Linked DNA regions of Homo sapiens: regions 2, 3 and 4 are each linked to region 1. Evidence: promoter capture Hi-C in human tissues and cell types (Jung and others, 2019). All regions are on one chromosome and are shown on one strand. Each heading gives the region's core, a stretch centred on a gene start or on the middle of the fragment in contact. The rest is flanking DNA. Distances are from core to core; before and after follow the strand shown.

What was found. The method cuts DNA at HindIII sites, captures the fragments that hold promoters and counts their contacts. A contact is called where the count stands out against the background at its distance.
Region 2: a contact is called between a fragment that was not itself captured here and the fragment with the promoter of KCNJ1 in region 1, in 1 of the 25 tissues and cell types used here (heart left ventricle).
Region 3: a contact is called between a fragment that was not itself captured here and the fragment with the promoter of KCNJ1 in region 1, in 1 of the 25 tissues and cell types used here (spleen).
Region 4: a fragment that was not itself captured here is called in contact with the fragment with the promoter of KCNJ1 in region 1 in 1 of the 25 tissues and cell types used here (lymphoblastoid cells).

What each region holds. Positions count from the first base shown.
Region 1 is chr11:128,866,018-128,868,752 of GRCh38, reverse strand. KCNJ1 (potassium inwardly rectifying channel subfamily J member 1) reads left to right here and starts at 1,457. Exons shown (of 3, transcript NM_153766.3): 1 at 1,457-1,580. LOC107984409 (a long non-coding RNA gene) reads right to left here. Exons shown (of 3, transcript XR_001748442.2): 3 at 1,574-2,003. The HindIII fragment of the contact is 8,499 bases long and covers 1-2,735 here.
Region 2 is chr11:128,269,452-128,272,161 of GRCh38, reverse strand. No RefSeq gene overlaps it. Among named protein-coding and RNA genes, the nearest start is that of LINC02098, 62 kb to the right of the region's middle. The HindIII fragment of the contact is 3,763 bases long and covers 1-2,710 here.
Region 3 is chr11:128,300,527-128,303,226 of GRCh38, reverse strand. It overlaps LOC124902787 (a long non-coding RNA gene), which reads left to right. Exons shown (of 2, transcript XR_007062946.1): 2 at 1-900. Among named protein-coding and RNA genes, the nearest start is that of LINC02098, 93 kb to the right of the region's middle. RefSeq lists a silencer at 499-588. The HindIII fragment of the contact is 4,008 bases long and covers 1-2,700 here.
Region 4 is chr11:128,250,896-128,253,595 of GRCh38, reverse strand. No RefSeq gene overlaps it. Among named protein-coding and RNA genes, the nearest start is that of LINC02098, 43 kb to the right of the region's middle. The HindIII fragment of the contact is 3,615 bases long and covers 1-2,700 here.

The sequences.
Region 1 (2,735 bases), core at 208-2,707:
ACTGATTCGACATTATGGTGGTGTTGTATAATTATTTCATTATATATTAGAATATAATACATAATATATATTATATGATATATTAGAATATAATACGTAATATATGTTATATAATATTTAGAATATAATATGTAATATATGTTATATAATATTTAGAATATAATACGTAATATATGTTATATAATATATTAGAATATAATACGTAATATATGTTATATAATATATTAGAATATAATACGTAATATATGTTATATAATATATTAGAATATAATACGTAATATATGTTATATAATATATTAGAATATAATACGTAATATATATTATATAACATATTAGAATATAATACGTAATATATGTTATATAATATATTAGAATATAATACATAATATATATTATATTATATATTAGAATATAATACAGAATATATATTATATATTAGAATATAATACATAATATATATTATATATTAGAATATAATACAGAATATATATTATATATTAGAATATAATACAGAATATATGTTATATAATATATTAGAATATAATACAGAATATATGTTATATAATATATTAGAATATAATACAGAATATATGTTATAGAGTATATTAGAATATAATACATAATATATGTTATATAATATATTAGAATATAATACATAATATATATTATATTATATATTAGAATATAATACATAATGAAATAAGGAATATAATAGAATATTATTTCATAGAATAGAATAGAATATTATTTCCTTCTATAATAGAATAGAATATTTCATTATTTCATCCCATATTCATTATTTCATTCTATAATATTATAGAATAGAATAGAATATTATATAATGTAATAGAATATTATTTCATTATATATTAGAATATAATATATAATGAAATAAGGAATATAATAGAATATAATAGAAGTAAAGTAATTATTATAAGTAAACACAGTAGAAACAAAGTTCACAATAAATGTCATGTGTTTGAATCATCTCGAAACCATCCTCCCCCACCACCTCCCTGGTCCATGGAAAAAATGTCTCCCATGAAACTGGTCCCTGGTGCCAAAAAGGTTGGGGACTGCTGTTCTAGGGCCACTGAGTGATTCACAGGACAGGAGACATTTGTGAGGGGCTCCTTGGGGACCCCTACTTCCCTGCCCTGTAACATCCAGCCTCATGTGCGCACGTGTTCAACTTCATGCCTTTGACTTAGACACATCGACATGAGCATACCGGCCTTCTGGTTCCAAGCCAGGGTTCCATAAACAAATCCTTCTTAGTTAGCCTTGGTAGCTCAACACCTTTGGTATCTCACTCACTTAACTGCCACGCCTACTCTTGTTGGATCCGGTTATAAAGTAAACTATGTTCTTTGAGAACTGTTGCATACAGATGAGTTGGCAGCCGGTCTGAGCTGGCCCACAGACTCATAAAATCAACAGGGCCTCGGGTACCCTCACCTAGCATATCCAAACTCTTGCATCAAAGGTGCAGGGACTTGCTCACATCGAGAATCTGGTTGCTTTCTTGGAGACCAAGAAAATGAGTTTTTGTTTCTACATTTACTCCAGCAATCCATGAGGTAAGAGGAGAAACACCTCATTGTCTCTTTGTAGGAAAAAGAAGTTAATTCTTGTGAAAATTTAGACCTCTTTTCCCCGCCTCAAATCTAGGCAGACTTGTCTGTCCACTCCTGGGGGATAGATAGAAGCATGGTTTTAACTCACTCACTGGATGCTTTTGGTGTGCTGGTTACATGTGGATTATTAGCTGTGTGCTGCATCTTGCCTTCCCTGGGTCACTCCGCAGCCCTGGGGCTGGAGGGCAGTAAGAATCTTTGGTTGCATCATGCCTGATTCCAAAGTCTTCTTTTGGTGGCAGAGATGTATGTAGGGTTTTCATCTCTGGTGGCATCCTTTCAATTGTAGCAAGACCTTGCCTAGTAACACAACCTCTGCCAAGCCGTTTCCATCTTTAAGGTAGAGGATCAAGGTGCTAGTGGGGTCTATTATGGAAAACATATATCAGGAAAAGGCAAGAGTTAGCCAGACATTTTGATTACCTTCACCCAAATGTCTTTCTTTCATTTTCTGATGTAGGACTTTATAGGAATTTTGCACCATTCTGAATGGATACATTTGGATTTCTCAACATTTGTTCAGCTTCCTAATGACTGTTGTGACAATTGCTCTATACCAGTGAATGCCAACTGTTTATCTCTGCTCTGAACAGGTATGGAGCCCCTTCTCCCAATATCTGTATCTTACAGATTTGGTGCATAGACGCTTAAAAGGAGTTGGTCTTTCGCAACCAGCAATCTTTAGGAAAAATGATTGAATTTTTCTCCTTTTAGCTGGGCTTACAAAATGGAGCAAAACATAGTGATTGTGCTATGGACCTTTTATGGACAGGGACTTGGCAGAGCCACTCACTGGATGCTTTTGATCTGCTGGTTGTACCTGGATTATTAGTTGCGAGCTGCACGCTGCCTTCCCTGGGCCATTCCGTAGCCCTGGGGCTGGAGGGCAGTTAGAATCTTTGGTTGAATCTTCGGTTACATTGGAGGAGCTGCCCAGTCTTTGTGGGCTCCCTTCAGTCATGGGCTTGGCTTGTGTTGTCTTACTCTACACTGTTTAGTGTAAATGGATTCTCACTAAGTCAGCTTCAGCTTTTAAGAGCATGATGGGGTGGAGATATCTGGGAACGTATGGGCCATCAGAAAAGCATTTTTTTATAC
Region 2 (2,710 bases), core at 125-2,624, 600 kb after region 1:
CTGGCCATTTTTCCATTTTAATTCATGTAGTTCTATCTCATGGTTAATAGCTTTACAATGGTTCCATAGGACATTTGTATCATGGATTCAATACACATCTTTATCTAGCCCCTATTCATGGAATCTGTTTTCTTCTAATTTTTCCCAATCATTAAACATATTTTAATGAATGCCCTTTCAGGGATCTTCACTGACTGAAGTAGGTATAGAGTAACCATAAAATTGGCAGAAAGCAGCAGTAGTCAAAAGCAATGATATTTTCAATCCCTTTCCAGTGAGAATTGAAATACAAACAAAAGTCTGAAGAACATTTGAGTGACTTGTTCTACAAACAAACTTTATGTTCAGATTTCAAAATGGGATAAACTTTGTAGATGGGAGAGAAATCAGACAGTTCTCTTCTCTACTACAAAAATAAGACAATTTCAGCTGAGAAGAAAAAAACAGAAGTAATGAATTGCTAAGCAACAGAGATCCTGTTTACATGCAAATATTGGTAGTAATAACAAAAAAAACAGGGTGCAGGAATAACACAGGAAATATGATCTGAAAGCAAAATTGCATATAATAAAATATTTGGGTCTTGTTTTGGAGTTTGGTTTTCCACAACAAGTCAACAGCTATTTATGTTGACACCATCTGAATTAACTGGCCTCAAAGCTAACCTGACATTTTGCGATCTGCCATCTGTCTAGGAAGGAAGTTTATTCTGACAAAGACAAAGACTAAAAGGTGTTTGTGCATCAGCTTATCTCTTCTAAGGACCTTAATAAGAAGGTCAACTTTGTGGTGCTTCAAACTTTTCTTACTAGCAAGATCTGAGGCATGTTGGAGCATAAATATTTCTACTAGGATATGAGCCCTTTAAACTATAGTGGTTTATTCTTTTTACTAGGATGGATTTTTAACCTTCCAGTGGAATGTATAAAGGCTAAGTCACTTTTCCTAAGCAAAGTTTTAAGATGATTTTTAGAACAGGTTTAGGTTTACAGCAAAATTGAGAGAAAGGCACAGAGATATCCCATATACTCCTGCCCCCATATACACACAGTCTCCCTACTATGCTGTAGCCATATTTACAGCAACTTTTCCGGAAATGTAGGATTAGAAGTTAGGCTTTCTGTATTTTTTCCTTTAATTTGTTTTTAGATTTTTTTAATATGTGAAGACATTGCTTTTCTTCTGTTAGATATGTTAGGTTTGTGATTATAGAATTTTTTAGACTAAAAATCAATTTCTTCAGAATTTTGAAGGCCTTGTTCTAATACCTTTTAGCTTCCAGTAACACTATTAAGAAATATAATTAAATTTTTATTTATGATTCTCACATTGTGTTTTTGTTCTTTATTTCCTCTTTCTGTAAGATGTTAGAACTTCTCTTTATCTCTGGTGTACGCAGATCTCATGATGAGGTATACATTTGTTTGGGTATTATTTTTTAAAAATTCATTTAATGAGTACTTGGTGTTCTCTTTCAATTAAGTTACAAGTGTTCTTCAATTATTTTGAAAACTTCATTAAGAAAGAAGAAAGACCTCAATAATCTAACCTTTCATATTAATACACTAAACATAGAAGAGCACACTAATCAGAATGCAAACAGAAAGAAGAAAATAATAAAGATTACAGCAGAAATTAATGAAAAAGAAAACAGGAGAACAATAGAGAAATTTAGTGGCACCAAGGAATGGTTTTTGAAAAGCTCAATAAAATTAACAAAACGTTAGCTAGATTGACCAAGAAGAGAGACAGAGAGAGAGAAGACACAAATTACTAGAACTAGCAATGAAAGGAGACAAACTACTAAGCTTAGAAACACAAAAAGAATTATGAAGAAATACTAAGAACTCTTGTACACCACATGTTAAATAAATTAGATTAGCAGTCCCTAACCTTTTTGGCATCAGGGACTGGTTTCATGGAAGACAATTTTTCCACAGATTGGGGGTGGGGTATGGTTTTGGGATGAAACTGTTCCACCTCAGACCATCAGGCATTAGTTAGATTCTCATAAGAAGCATGCAACCTAGATCCCTCCCATGCACAGTTCACATTAGGGATCCACTCCTGTGAGAATCTAATGCCACCGCTGATCTGACAGGAGAGGAGCTCAGGCAGTAATGCTCCCTTGCCCTCCACTCATCTCCTGCTGTGTGGTCCAGGGTTGGGAACCCCTGAATTAGATAAAATGGACACATTCCTTGGAAGTTATGGACCACCAAAATTGACTTGTGGAGAAATCACAATCTGAATAAACCTATAATAAGTGAAGAGATTAAAGTATTAAAAACAAAACTATCCACAACATAAAGCCCTGACCCAGATAGATTGACCATTAAATTCTACCCAAAATTTAAAAAATAGAATTCATACCAGTTCTGTTTTCAAAAATTAGCAGAGAGAACACTTCCCAACTCATTCTATTAATCAAAACCAAAGATATCACAAGAAAACTACAGAACAATGACTCATGAATATAGAGTCACACAACCTCAGCAAAATACTCACAAACTGAATCCAGTGTCATATAAAAAGAATTACACATGTGACCAAGTGGGATTTAGTCTTAACATCTGAAAATAATTAATGTGATACATATTATCAATATTTTAAAATCACATAATCATTTTAATAGACGCAAAAAAAGTTGACAAAATTCAAAACTCTTTCCTAATAAAAACAATAAATAAGAATAGAAGGACTCAATCTG
Region 3 (2,700 bases), core at 148-2,647, 570 kb after region 1:
GGGTCTATTTTTCCTACTTAATCTGACCCATGTACTTTCAATACCTTTACTGGTCATTAGCTCTATACCAGTAAGGCCAAATATATGGTGGTGGGTGATAGTATCAGCTCCCTCAACTCTGCAACCCACTGGAGCTTACCAAATGAGAACTGGTTTTCTTCATGCAATTTACCTCAAAAGCCACACCATCAGCAAGAGGACCAGAACTAATTGTCAAAGTGCAAGCCACAACGAACACACAATTGTCACTTAAAACCAGTTTTTGCTTCAGTAAGCTTTTTTTTTCTATCTAGTATTTTATCTCTTAAAATAAAGAGAAAAAACAGGTAAGAAACTAGTTTACCAATAACTTTGACAAATAGCCCCTGAGGTAGAGGGAGTGACATTTGGAAAGTTGGTAAAAGCCACCAGAGTCAAAGCAACCTAAACAAAAAAAAAAAAGAAAAAAAAAAAAAAACTTGTGGCTATGCTACACTCAACCAGGCCACACCTGTTTTCAGAAACCACTGAGTGTTCTGCAGATACGCAGAGATGCCAGGTCTGACAGTCTCTAAGGCAACCAGATACCGATCATTGTCACACAGTAAGAAATAGGAAGAGACACTGGTAACAAACATTAAGCCTGGTTTTCTCATCTGCTCAACAGTGTAACGGTAGGTGGAGTCAGCTCTGCCTTGAGACTCTTCACTTGTCCAGTCTCAAACTCTAAACACCTACTGGAGTGCAGGGCATCCTGCAGCTGGATAAGTAACTGAAGATCTGAAGCCCACCTCTTAAGCGTAATCCCGCAATCGAATGTGGACTTTGAAATGGGCTTTTGAGGAGAAAAGGACAAGCTGCAGTTTCCCCCGTCTTCTAATTTCCTCATCTGCGAAATAAAACAGAGTGTTTATATGTCCAGAGAGTGGTGAGCCAGTGAACTGGGATGACACAAAGAGATAACTTATCTAATTTGGTTCCCAAACGGGTGGGTTGGATTTTAGTTAATAAGTCACCATCATAGGAAAATATAAGCAGGTCCCTGCTTTCTGAGCATTTATGTCTATTGAAGATGTACAGTATCATGCTTTCCCTTTCTGAGACATTTCCAATCTGTAATATGTCAATAAGAATAAAGCAAATGGGCATTTTGTAAGAAGTTGGCAGAGGTGCAGAATGCATTTAGGAATTGGAATGAGTGCTTGTCTACTGCTTTTCAAATCATTGCATTGGGATTACTTATGCCTGTGTTTTTCTTGCTCCCTAGACTGAGCTCCTTGACATCAGGGGCTCATTTTTGTTTATTGGTGTCGTTCCCACTCTTCCTGGTGTCATGTTTTGCACCTGTGGATAGTCAAGTAATAGTTGAATAGTTGTTCAGTTGAATCATTCTGTTGCTTTTAGGAGGTGCAGTTTGAAGACACTGCAGCTAGACTGAAATCACATAGCCCAGGAAATGGGAAAACATACCGTGAAGATGGGCTAATTAATGATTTATTGTACCTTGAAAAAATTTAAAAAAGTATAAATATTAATGAAAGTATTGGTTTTTAAAGCTTAATGATGATCAGCAGCAGAAGATAAAACTTAAATGATACAACTGGCCAGATGGCAACCATCTTTATTAAAAGGCCTGGTCAGAATAAGAATCATTACATAGAATTGAATATGGGACAGAATGTTGAGAATCAATTATAGTAGTAAATATAACCAGCTTTATAGCAACACCAAGAATTACAGTGAAGTGCAAGTACTGCGAAATAAAATTTAAAATATTGATTTTCAAGGATTTATTTTACATTTTATAGTCAAAATTTAATGCAAAACAAAAAAGAGCCTGAAAATCATACAGTCTTACAACCAAGAAAAAACTGTCTTGGTATGCTTTGTATGAATCTTTTGAGTTTGTCCTTCTCTACACGTATCACAACACATATCACACAAATATACACACATGTATTTTTGTTTTTATAAACTGGGCTAACATATTGTTGCTTTGCAAGTTGCTATTTCACTCAACAGTGCAGTATGGCCATGTTTCTATGTTATTTAACTATTCTCTATTTTTCACAGCTATATATTATTTTATTGTATTTATTTATATACATATTATGTATTAATGGACATTTAGGTTGACTCCAAGGTTTTTGTGTGCTGTTTTCTCACGTATGCTTGTTGTTAAGGCTTTTCATAATGTCTTTGGGGAAAGTTCATGGCAATTTTTTTCTGCTAGCAGTATACAGATGGGACTTTTATCTCCTTTTAATTTCAAAGGAAATGTGGCTACAGATGAAAAATGACATGACACACACCTTCCTAATAGTTTAAGAACACTTGCTCTTAAAAAAAATAAGAAAAATGTAGGGGAAGTGATCTACTCCTCAGAGCTGTCTATATTGATTAGATCTCCAAAGTTGACTAACACTACAACATTTTTTTTAAAAAACATACGATTTAGAATCAGGTTAGAATAATATTATCCTAGGATATATTTTACCTCATCAAGAGTTACATGAACTTTATCACTTAAGAGAAAGTAAGTTATCAAAAGTATGTATTTTTATTTTTTTAAAAAGAGACCACAGAAAAGCTGGGTGAAAACATCAAAATTGTGACTTCTTCTTTATAAGTGGACCCTCTAACTGGCATTTTACCTGCTGTTATCTTTCTCCAAATGCTTCCTAGAAGCATTTTGCTCAAGTTCCATACCTGGGAGGCTTC
Region 4 (2,700 bases), core at 46-2,545, 610 kb after region 1:
ATTTTGCTGATGATTAGCAATGTTGAACATTTTTCATATACCTGTTGGACATCTATGTCTTCTTTTTAAAAATGTCTATTCATGCCCTTTGCCCACTTTTTAATAAAATTGTTTCTGGTTTTTGTTTGTTTGTTTTTGAGTTGTTTGAATTCCTTGTAAATTCTGGATATTAGTCCCCAGTCAGATGCATAGTTTACAAATATTTTATTTTGTTGTGTAGGTTGCCTATTCAGCTTGTTAATTATTACTTTTGCTATGCAGAAGCTTTCTAATTAATTAAATCCTATTTGTTTATTTTTGTTTTTGTTGCCTGTGTGTTTGAAGTCCTAGTCATGAATTCTTTGCCTAGACCAACCTTGTTCAACCTGTAGCCCATGAGCCACATGCAGCCCAGGTCGGCTTTGAATGTGACCCAACACAAATTCTTAAACTTTCTTAAAACATTATTATTTATTAGTGACTTTTATGAGCTCATCAGCTGTTGTTAGTGTTATTACATTTTACGTGTGGCCCAAGACAATTCTTCTTCTCCAGTGTGACCCAGGAAAGCCAAAAGATTGTACACCCCTGGCTTACACCAATGTCCAAAGTATTTTTTCCTAGGTTTTCTTTTAGTATTATTGTAGTTTCAGTTCTTACATTTAAGTCTTTTATCCATCTTGAGTTGATTATTGTATATAGTGAGAGATAGGGGTCCAGTTTCGTTCTTCTGTATATGGATATCCAATTTTCCAATTTTCCCAGAATTATTTATTGAGAAGGGTATCCTCTCCCTACTGTATGTTCTTGTCAACTTTGTCAAAGATCAGTTGGCTATAGAGATATGGCTTAATTTCTGGTTTCTCTGTTTGGTTTCATTGATTTATGTGTCCAATTTTACACCAGTGCCATACATCGCCCTGTATTATAATTTGAAGTCAGGTAATGTGATACCTTCAGCTTTGTTCTTTTGCTTAGGATTTCATTGGGTATTTGGGCTCTTTTTTGGTTTCATGTGAATTTTAGGATTGTTTTTTCTAATTCTGTAAAAAAATAACGTTGGTATTTTGATAAGGATTGCATTGAATCTATAGATTGCTTTGAGCAGTCTGGTCATTTGAATAATTTATGAACATGGAGTGCTTTCTATTTTTTGTGCCATGTACAATTTCTTCCATCAAAGGTCTTTCACTTCCTTAATTAAATATATTCCTAGGTATTTTATTTTATTTTGTTTTGTTTTTGTAGCTATTGTAAATGATATTGCCTCTTGATTTGCTTCTCAGCTTGATCATTTTTGGTGTGCAGAAACGCTACTGAGTTTTGTCAGTTTATTTTGTATCCTGTGAATTCAATACATTCACTTATCAAATCTAAGAGGTGTGTGTGTGTGTGTGTGTGTGTGTGTGTGTGTGTGGAGTCTTTCCAGGGAAGGGCAAGTACAAAAGCTCTGAGGTGGGAACACAGATGGAAGACCAGAGGAACAGCGAGGAGTCAAGAGCAGCTGAAGCGGATGCAAAGGGAAAAGTAGGACAGGAGGCACTGAGCAAGTTTCGGGGCCATTCCTCTGGGGAGGCAGGAAGCATGAGGGATTTGAACAGTAACAGTTTAATATATACAAATAGGGGATTAACAGGAGACTGGAGTGACAAGGGATTGACTAGTACAGGGAAAAGAGAGGCTAAAGAACACAGAAATAGTAGCTCCAGGGAGAAGCTACTGCCTATAGGACTGAGGCAGTGTACCTGTATTAGTTCATTTTCATGTTGCTGATAAAGACATACCCAAGACTGGGCAATTTACAAAAGAAAGAAGTTTAATGGACTTACAGCTCCAAGTGGCTGGGGAGGCCTCACAATCATGGCAGAAGGTGAAAGGCGCATCACACATGGCAGCAGACAAGAGAAGAGAGCTTGTATGGGCAGACTCCTCTTTAAAAAAACCATTGGATCTTGTGAAACTTATTCACTATCATGAGAACAGCATGGTAAAGACCTGCCCCCATGATTCAGTTAATTCCCGCTGGGTACCTTCCACAAGTGGGAATTATGGGAGCTATAATTCAAGATGAGATTTGGGTGGGGACACAGCCAAACAATATCAATACCCAAGGGAGGAACAAACCTGGAGAGGGGCCTTCCTCGTAGGGCTGAGAGCTAGACCTTGTGGATTTGCAGGATTTCTAGTGTTTCTAGATGCTCCTCTGTCTAATACATTTCTATGGTCAATGTAAAAATGCAGTCCTCTACAGCAGGATTTAAATAGCAGGCCCTGACCTGATTTGCCTGCATTCCAAATTGCAGATTCATAGTTTACTCCTTTCATTTCTTAAGCGTCTTGCACAAGATAGTTAAATTCTCTGTACTTCTGTTACCTTATCTATAAATAGGGATAATAATATTAAATCACACAGAATAACTGTTGTGATAATTTATAAATTAATCTCTACAAAGTACTCAGAAGGATGCCTGGTGCCTAATCAGCGTTCATTCAGTGTTACTCTTATGAACATTATTGGACAGATTTCACATAATTTCTATGCCTCACAAAAATGAACAGATTTTTATGGTCATGATGATTAATTAGTTACGATAAATCTTTTGAGAAAAAATACCCTCCCCATTATGTTTCGATGCAGGGACAAGTTCAAGTTAACGCAGAGTTGATTGAAAACAGTCACTCCCTCCTCCAACCAATTAGTGGGAGTGAGTACAAGAGAGT